Linked DNA regions of Homo sapiens: region 1 is linked to region 2. The links are contacts of gene promoters, found by promoter capture Hi-C in blood cells and fetal thymus (Javierre and others, 2016). All regions are on one chromosome and are shown on one strand. The core of a region is centred on a gene start or on the middle of the fragment in contact, and the rest is flanking DNA. Distances in the headings are between cores, read along the strand shown. Region 1 overlaps ELOVL6 (ELOVL fatty acid elongase 6). Region 2 holds the start of CYP2U1 (cytochrome P450 family 2 subfamily U member 1).

Region 1 (3,589 bases), core at 484-2,983, 2.3 Mb after region 2:
TATAATTTATTAAAAGATACATGAAAGTTCATATCAAAGCTCCAGCACAACTTTACATTATTTTCTAGGACCCCACACAGATTACACGTTTTTTCTCTATGTATTTTCTCATTCTTCTCACTCTTAACCTAGTACATATGCCTACATCCCAGTGCTTTCTAAAAATTATTGAATGTCATGTTATGATCCTCACACAAGTTTTAATCCTAAATCAATATGAACTGTGATACCTCAAAATAAACAGCAAGTGACATGAGTACAATATAGACACACTATATTCCTACAGAGCTGACCAAATTTGTTGCTGCAATGTTAATGATGAAATGAAACTCTGGCCTACTCTGTTCCATAGTCACAGATGCACTGTTTTCCAGCCATTTTTCTTACAAATGAATGTAGAAGGTTGCAAGGAAGACTTCAGGAAGCAATTCAAAGCAATCCTCACTAAATGAAAAACAACAGCCAAATACTATGTCTGCATTTGAACAGTTTCATTAACATTATGCTGCTATATTTTTTATGCTGCTATATTTGAGTTAAATGCTAACACAGGTTTTTAGTGCTTTTTATGTTCTTTAATCATGAAATTGTACATCGTGTTACTTTCCAAACTTCACCTACAAAAAAGATATAGATGTACAACTCCTTTTAAAATGTTTCACGGCCGGTTGCAGTGGCTCAAGCCTGTTATCTCAGCACTTTCGGAGGCCGAGGTGGGCGGATTACTTGAGGTCAGGAGTTCAAGACCAACCTGACCAACACGGTGAATTCCCATCTCTACTAAAAATACAAAAATTAGCTTGGTGTCATGGCAGGCACCTGTAATCCCAGCTGCTTGGGAGGTTGAGACATAAGAATCACTGGAACCCGGAGGCAGAGGTTGCAGTGAGCCAAGATTGTGCCACTGCACTCCAGCCTGGGCAACAGAGTGAGACCCTGTCTCAAAAATAAAACAAAATAAAATAAAATGTTTCACTCCATTTTTACCTTTGGTAAAAACAAATTTGTGAATAAAAAGGCTTCCTCAGCTGAACAGCATTTAATTCTTAAAATTCCTATACTATCTTATAGACTCTATAATACAGAATACAAAATGTTAAAACAAGTAAACCCTTTTACACCACCAAGGGAGTGAGTGGGGAGAAAAGTCAGAAAAATATATAAAGCTTTGAAAGGCTGGATGTGTGGAGAATGCCAGGAGAGGGGGAGGGTTTCATGAAGTTCTAGGCAAGCCCTTTGAAGACGTCACCTCACATACATAATGTTACAGCAGTCAGCACAGGCCTCCTGCTTTCCTATTGGTGGGCACCGTGTCAGCCGACATCAGAAGATAATCATCATTGGCTAGACAATTACAACTGGAGCAACTAGCATCCACTGCTGTTAGCACAAACCTGGCAGGCTGCTGAAAGAGAAGGCAGAGAGAGCCCAGCTTCCCTTCTCACTCAATGAATTATATGTCGCCTTAGCAATCACCAGGTGATTTTGCTCCCTGGCTAGCAGCACTTCCAACTTAAGTCAGCTCTTAGTGAGAAAAACAGGTAAAGGCCAGACATCTCATAAAAGAGCAAAATGTCTCTATTTTCAATGTTGTAAAATTGCAAGGACTTTTCAGTGAAAATTAGAATTCAAAACTCCTATTTGGACCTATGAGCAGACATTTTTCTCTACCTCATGTAATAAACTCTCATTGACCAGATAATATAACCAGACAGGATATTTTTCACTGGACATGTAGTTTCAAGATGAGGCCCAGGATGATTCTACAAGGGAATACACTTATTACTTTGCATTTCAATTGCTATTCTAACCTATTATATATGAAACTTTTTGCTAGCAAAGTAAAAAAAGTCTGCAGTATTTACTTTCATGGCTAGGCCAATGAGTATGAGGTTAATGATTCATTAAAGCAGCAATAAACTTGAAAACTAGCCTCAGTTGAACCCTTTAGGGTTTATACAAATGCTACTCCAAAAGTCGGGCCCCATTCCATTAACACGTGCTATGGTTAGTAAGTATGGATTATAGGGTATGTTAACATTAATTTGCGCTATGGTTAGTAAGTATGGATTATAGCGTATGTTTAATAAAGTATTCTTATTTTAGGTCCTCTTAAATGATGCTAGTTAGCAAAGGCAGCATACTGGCAAAATACTACTCCTGGCCATTCTCACAGTTCTTCAAAAGCCAATGTAGTTCACTTTTGAGAGAGGATGTTTTAATTCTCTAAATTAACAAGTTTTGCCTGTTACTAAGAAGAGATTTATAAGGACAACCATAAATTCCCAAAAGACAGAGTAGAAGCTTCACTATATCATGTTTTTCCTCCAGAAGCTATTTCAAACCATTTTAAGTTAATGAGTCTGAAAAAGGTAAGATTTTATGGTTTCCTCAAGTTCCTCTCTCCTCAAGAGGGTCTAAGCCTTGGTTATGGAGTTCCCTTCTCCTATTAAAAAGGGAGTGAAAAGAAAATCTGGTTCAAGACTTTTTGTCCTGCATTAGCTGGATTCTATTAAAAATAAAAACTAAAAGCTTTAATTTGAACCTCCCGGGTTCAAGCAATTCTCCTGCCTCAACCTCCCGAGTAGCTGGGATTACAGGCACCCGCCACCACGCTCGGCTAATTTTTTTGTATTTTTAGTAGAGATGGGGTTTCACCATATTGGCCTGGCTGGTCTCGAACTCCTGTCGTCAGGTAATCCACCCACCTCAGCCTCCCAAAGTGCTGGGATTACAGGCAGGAGCCACCACACCCGGCTAATAAAATTAAATTTTAAAAAGTGTTTAAAGTCTTTTTGGCTGTACAGTTTTTGGGGAGGGAGGAGAGATAAAATTGGGCACCCTGGGATATTGGGAGAAATGCACAAAATCTGGCATTTAAAAAAAAACATGAAAGTAAGACAATTAGGGTCAGGAAGAGTTGCAAGGGAGGGGTAACAGCCAGCAGGGTTCTTTGACTGCAATAAGCAATCTAAGAACATAACATCAACAGAGAGCAGAAGCCAGGAAGGGAAAAATCCCAAGATGTGACTCTGCCACGGTATGCAAGTTCTAGCCTGTTAACCTTCGGGTATTAACGAGTAGTGCTGGCAATAAAATGGGCACCAATCACCATTTCAACTCACTGGACATTTTCTCAAGAATGTGCCTTATGCAAAGCACTCTGCTAGGTGCTTTGCAGAATCAAGAGTGGGATGACAAGAACCGTAACCTGAAGAGCTGATGGTCTGTAAGTTAATAACCATGTATATAACAGTAAAGGATATTGCCAGAAGAAAGGTACAGATAAAGAACTAGGAGGAAACAGTGGTCAGAACCTAACAGGAGTAGATACGTTGGCACATTTTTGTCATTTTCAGTCCCACGAGGGCTGAGACCTGTCTGGCTCAGTACTGAGTGAATGGAGAGAAGAGGCGGGAAATGGTACCTGAAGCAGGCCTAGGAAGTGGCCTCAGAGAAAAAGCAACAAGTAAATAAGAGGCAGTATCGACTGCAGTGGGCTAGGAATGGCGGGCGTACAGTGAATGGGGTCAGCCAGCAAAGCGAGGGAAAGCGGACTCCGGAAGAGCAGGTTAAACCAGGACGCAGC
Region 2 (3,719 bases), core at 1,131-3,630:
GTGGCTCTCGTCTGTAATCCCAGCACTTTGGGAGACTGAAGCAGGCAGATTACCTGAGGTCAGAAGTCCTAGACCAGCCTGGCCAACAGGGTGAAACCCTGTCTCTACTACAAATACAAAATTTGCCGGGCGTGGTGGTGCGGGCCTGTAATCCCAGCTACTGGGAGGCTGAGACAGGAGAATCGCATGAACCTGGGAGGCGGAGGTTGCAGTGAGCCGAGATCACACCACTGCATTCCAGCATGGGCGAAAGAGCGAGATTCCATCGCAAAAAATAATAATAATAAAATAAAAGTGTATCCATAATATTATGAACAATATCCCTTCCTGTATTCGTTTGCTAGGGCAGCCATAACAAAGTACTACAGACTGGATGTTTTAAACAACAGAAATTTATATTTATATCCTCACCGTTCTGGAGACTAGAAGTCAAAACTCAAGGTGTCAGCAGGGTTGATTTCTTCTGAGACCTCTCTCCTGACTTGTAGATGGCTGCCTTCTGACTGTGTCCTCACATCCTCTTTCCTCTCTGTGTCCTTATCTCCTCTTCAGACACCAGTCATATTGGTAAGAGCCCATCCACAGGACTCCATTTTAGCTTAATTACCTCTTTAAAGGCCCTTTCTCCAAATACAGTCTTATTCTGAGGCACTGGGGGTTAGGACTTCAACATATAGTGGTGAGGAGAGGCTGAATTCAGCCCAGATTTCCTATCTGCCCCGCACAGCTATTAACCTAGTGAAAATGAGAGATTTAGGAAAACACTACACGTGCAGTTACATCCTGTACAATATAAAAGGGTGGCTGTTGGAGTTGTTAAATTAGTCACAGCTTCAACTATTTTAAAATCATTTATGAATTTAAATTGCTTGTATGGGATGATGTATATAGTGGCTACTGTTTCAGAGAGCAAAGCCCTAGAATCAGATGACATCCAGAATGTCATGTTGAAGATCGTATCTGCAAACAAGTAGTTTAAATTTTTAAAAACTTCTCTTAATTCAAAAATTCAAAAAAAATGAGAAAAGTAATCTCACAAGTAGTGGTTAATTATAGAAGATGAGAGGTGTGGAGGTTTTTTTTTTTTGTTTGGGGTGCATAAGCTTAAAATAACATGAAAAGCATGTCAAAAAGAATATGAGAACAGAGTGGACTTGAAATTTAACATATCCTACTGGCATCACTTGTTTATAGAAAAATAAAATGGATCATGTATTTATTTGAGGACTCACTATGCTTTCTTTGATCACATTTTTATAGGTACAGCGTGGTGTTCAAACTTTTAATGTATGGAGAAAAATGAAACGGCTAGAAAAATGGCCCAGTACAGACAATTCTATGCTCAATCCAACTTGAACAGAAACTACAGGATTTGGCCTAAACAAGACTGAAAGGGAAGCCCTTATCAGGAAAGCCATTATCTGAGAAGATAAAATAAAGTAATACTTTGTTTTTAAAGTATTATACAATTCATATCTAATATTTCAACCTCAGCCTTTCAAGTGTTGTCTAACACCAATAATAATATTGCCACCCCTCCCTCAACCGGTTATCTTCTTTTCATATTTCTAGCTACTTAAATCCACCAAGCAAATTCTGGTTTCGCTATTTCTGGATTTAAGTACATTTTCTAATGCACCCAGGCCACACGCAGGAATGGACACAGCTTTCGCTCTCCGCATAAGTTTTCTAGCCCAGGGCAAGCTCTCAGAACGTGACTCCTCGTGCCTCGCTGCCCGCCCCTCGCTCCCCCCACTCCCGCCATCATCCCTTCCGCAGAGTTGGCTGCCAAGCCGACACCCACAGATTCTGCATTCCACGGCTTCCCAGCATCCTGCTGTCTCTGCGTGGAGGAAAGGGTGCTGCGAATCCCAGTTTAGATAAGGAACCCCGTCTTTTCACTACTACACCGAAGCATGCAGGAATAGGGCGTTGACCCCATTCTCCCAGCTCAGGGCACAGGTGCTAAGGCCGACCCATCTCACGGGCCTGTTCACCAGTTTCCCACACTCAGTACAGATCCTAACACGGTTTATGCACTTCATAACCATGCGTTTGTGTTTGTCAACTGACAAACGAGTGATAATGACAAACGAATGACACAAGGGAAACCAACAGCCAATCAGAGCGCAAGGTTGTGTTGCCAGCATCCCAGTTTCAGGGACAGTCACCGCCAAGCCCGACCCTGCAAAGGGTCGTAACCGGACTTCGGGGCAAACTTCAGGTCCCCCGCCTGCTAGCCCGCCAACCCCCTCCGCCAGGCAGCCGGCGCGCCTCCAGGTTCCGCCCAGGCGTCGCTGAGTGGCGGCGGCGGGGAGAATGCGCGCGGCGCAGCCAATCCGGGGGCGTTCCTACACCCCCTGCCCGCCCCCGACCTTCCAGAGCAGAGCAGGACACTGGCGCCGCGGGTCAGGCAGCTGCGTGCGCGTCTCCTCCAGGCAGCAAGGGGAACCCGAGGCCGCCGGCGCCCGGACCATGTCGTCTCCGGGGCCGTCGCAGCCGCCGGCCGAGGACCCGCCCTGGCCCGCGCGCCTCCTGCGTGCGCCTCTGGGGCTGCTGCGGCTGGACCCCAGCGGGGGCGCGCTGCTGCTATGCGGCCTCGTAGCGCTGCTGGGCTGGAGCTGGCTGCGGAGGCGCCGGGCGCGGGGCATCCCGCCCGGGCCCACGCCCTGGCCTCTGGTGGGCAACTTCGGTCACGTGCTGCTGCCTCCCTTCCTCCGGCGGCGGAGCTGGCTGAGCAGCAGGACCAGGGCCGCAGGGATTGATCCCTCGGTCATAGGCCCGCAGGTGCTCCTGGCTCACCTAGCCCGCGTGTACGGCAGCATCTTCAGCTTCTTTATCGGCCACTACCTGGTGGTGGTCCTCAGCGACTTCCACAGCGTGCGCGAGGCGCTGGTGCAGCAGGCCGAGGTCTTCAGCGACCGCCCGCGGGTGCCGCTCATCTCCATCGTGACCAAGGAGAAGGGTGAGCGGGAGGTCGTGGGCTGTGGGTACGCGGATGCCGCGGATGAGTCTCCAGGTGCGTGGGGGCTGCAGTTCCTGTGCCCCTTCCGGCCGCCCGCGCCCCCAGGCTGCCTCACACCTGCATCCTGAACTAACAGGTGATGGTGGTGGCGGCGCTTCTCCTTTCTGATGCCTTTAAGATCCCATCAAGTAGTGACGGACGCGTGACTTGCTCATACTCCAAGATCATAAGTAGAAAAGTCATCCGGAGATTGAGGGAGAGTAATAGGGATGGCGGAAGGACAAGGTGGCAAGCCAGGTTCCATCTTTCCAAAAGTAGCCTTCCCTTCCACCAGCTGTGACCTCGGAGAGAAACTTTGGCCCCCATGTTAGAAAGAGGGAAGGATATTCTTTTTACCTTGTGGGTTTCGAATGTAAGAATTTAAGAAGATAATTTCCAATAAGATAAAAAGTCCAGAAAACACAGAAGAAGCCTATTACCAAATCTCCGGCTTTGGTTCATAGCCTCTGATTCCTGCGTATGGGAGTCTAAATTGGACATTTTTGGGGGTTGGAAAACGTGTTATCTGCTGCAATAAAATGTCCAATCTAACCTGTCTCTACCGTCCCCCTTTGTCTTACTGGCTGGCTTAGGTCTCTGACTTCTTTTCTGAGTCACTCCTACGCATCAGTCAGGTGTTAAATGCCTTTTCCTTGGGGAAGCCTTTTCTCACAGCCTCTGCAAGTAGGGTAGCCTCCCTTGTTAGAACCAGGTC

Evidence for each region. Contacts are between HindIII fragments. The CHiCAGO score rates a contact against its expected background, and 5 or more counts as called.
Region 1: a fragment that was not itself captured here is called in contact with the fragment with the promoter of CYP2U1 in region 2 in 1 of 17 cell types (fetal thymus); the score reaches 5.1 in fetal thymus.

The regions. Positions count from the first base shown.
Region 1 is chr4:110,192,661-110,196,249 of GRCh38, forward strand. The region is part of intron 1 of ELOVL6 (ELOVL fatty acid elongase 6); the gene reads right to left. Among named protein-coding and RNA genes, the nearest start is that of ELOVL6, 4.2 kb to the right of the region's middle. The HindIII fragment of the contact is 1,138 bases long and covers 1,165-2,302 here.
Region 2 is chr4:107,929,169-107,932,887 of GRCh38, forward strand. CYP2U1 (cytochrome P450 family 2 subfamily U member 1) reads left to right here and starts at 2,381. Exons shown (of 5, transcript NM_183075.3): 1 at 2,381-2,965. The coding sequence starts at 2,476. It overlaps CYP2U1-AS1 (CYP2U1 and SGMS2 antisense RNA 1), which reads right to left and starts at 2,951. Exons shown (of 7, transcript NR_125929.1): 1 at 2,803-2,951. The region is part of intron 1 of LOC107986298 (a long non-coding RNA gene); the gene reads right to left. It overlaps LOC124900751 (a long non-coding RNA gene), which reads right to left and starts at 2,417. Exons shown (of 2, transcript XR_007058221.1): 1 at 1,805-2,417; 2 at 1-735. RefSeq lists enhancers at 1,751-2,258, 2,919-2,988, 3,049-3,118 and a silencer at 2,119-2,708. The HindIII fragment of the contact is 6,450 bases long and covers 1,102-3,719 here.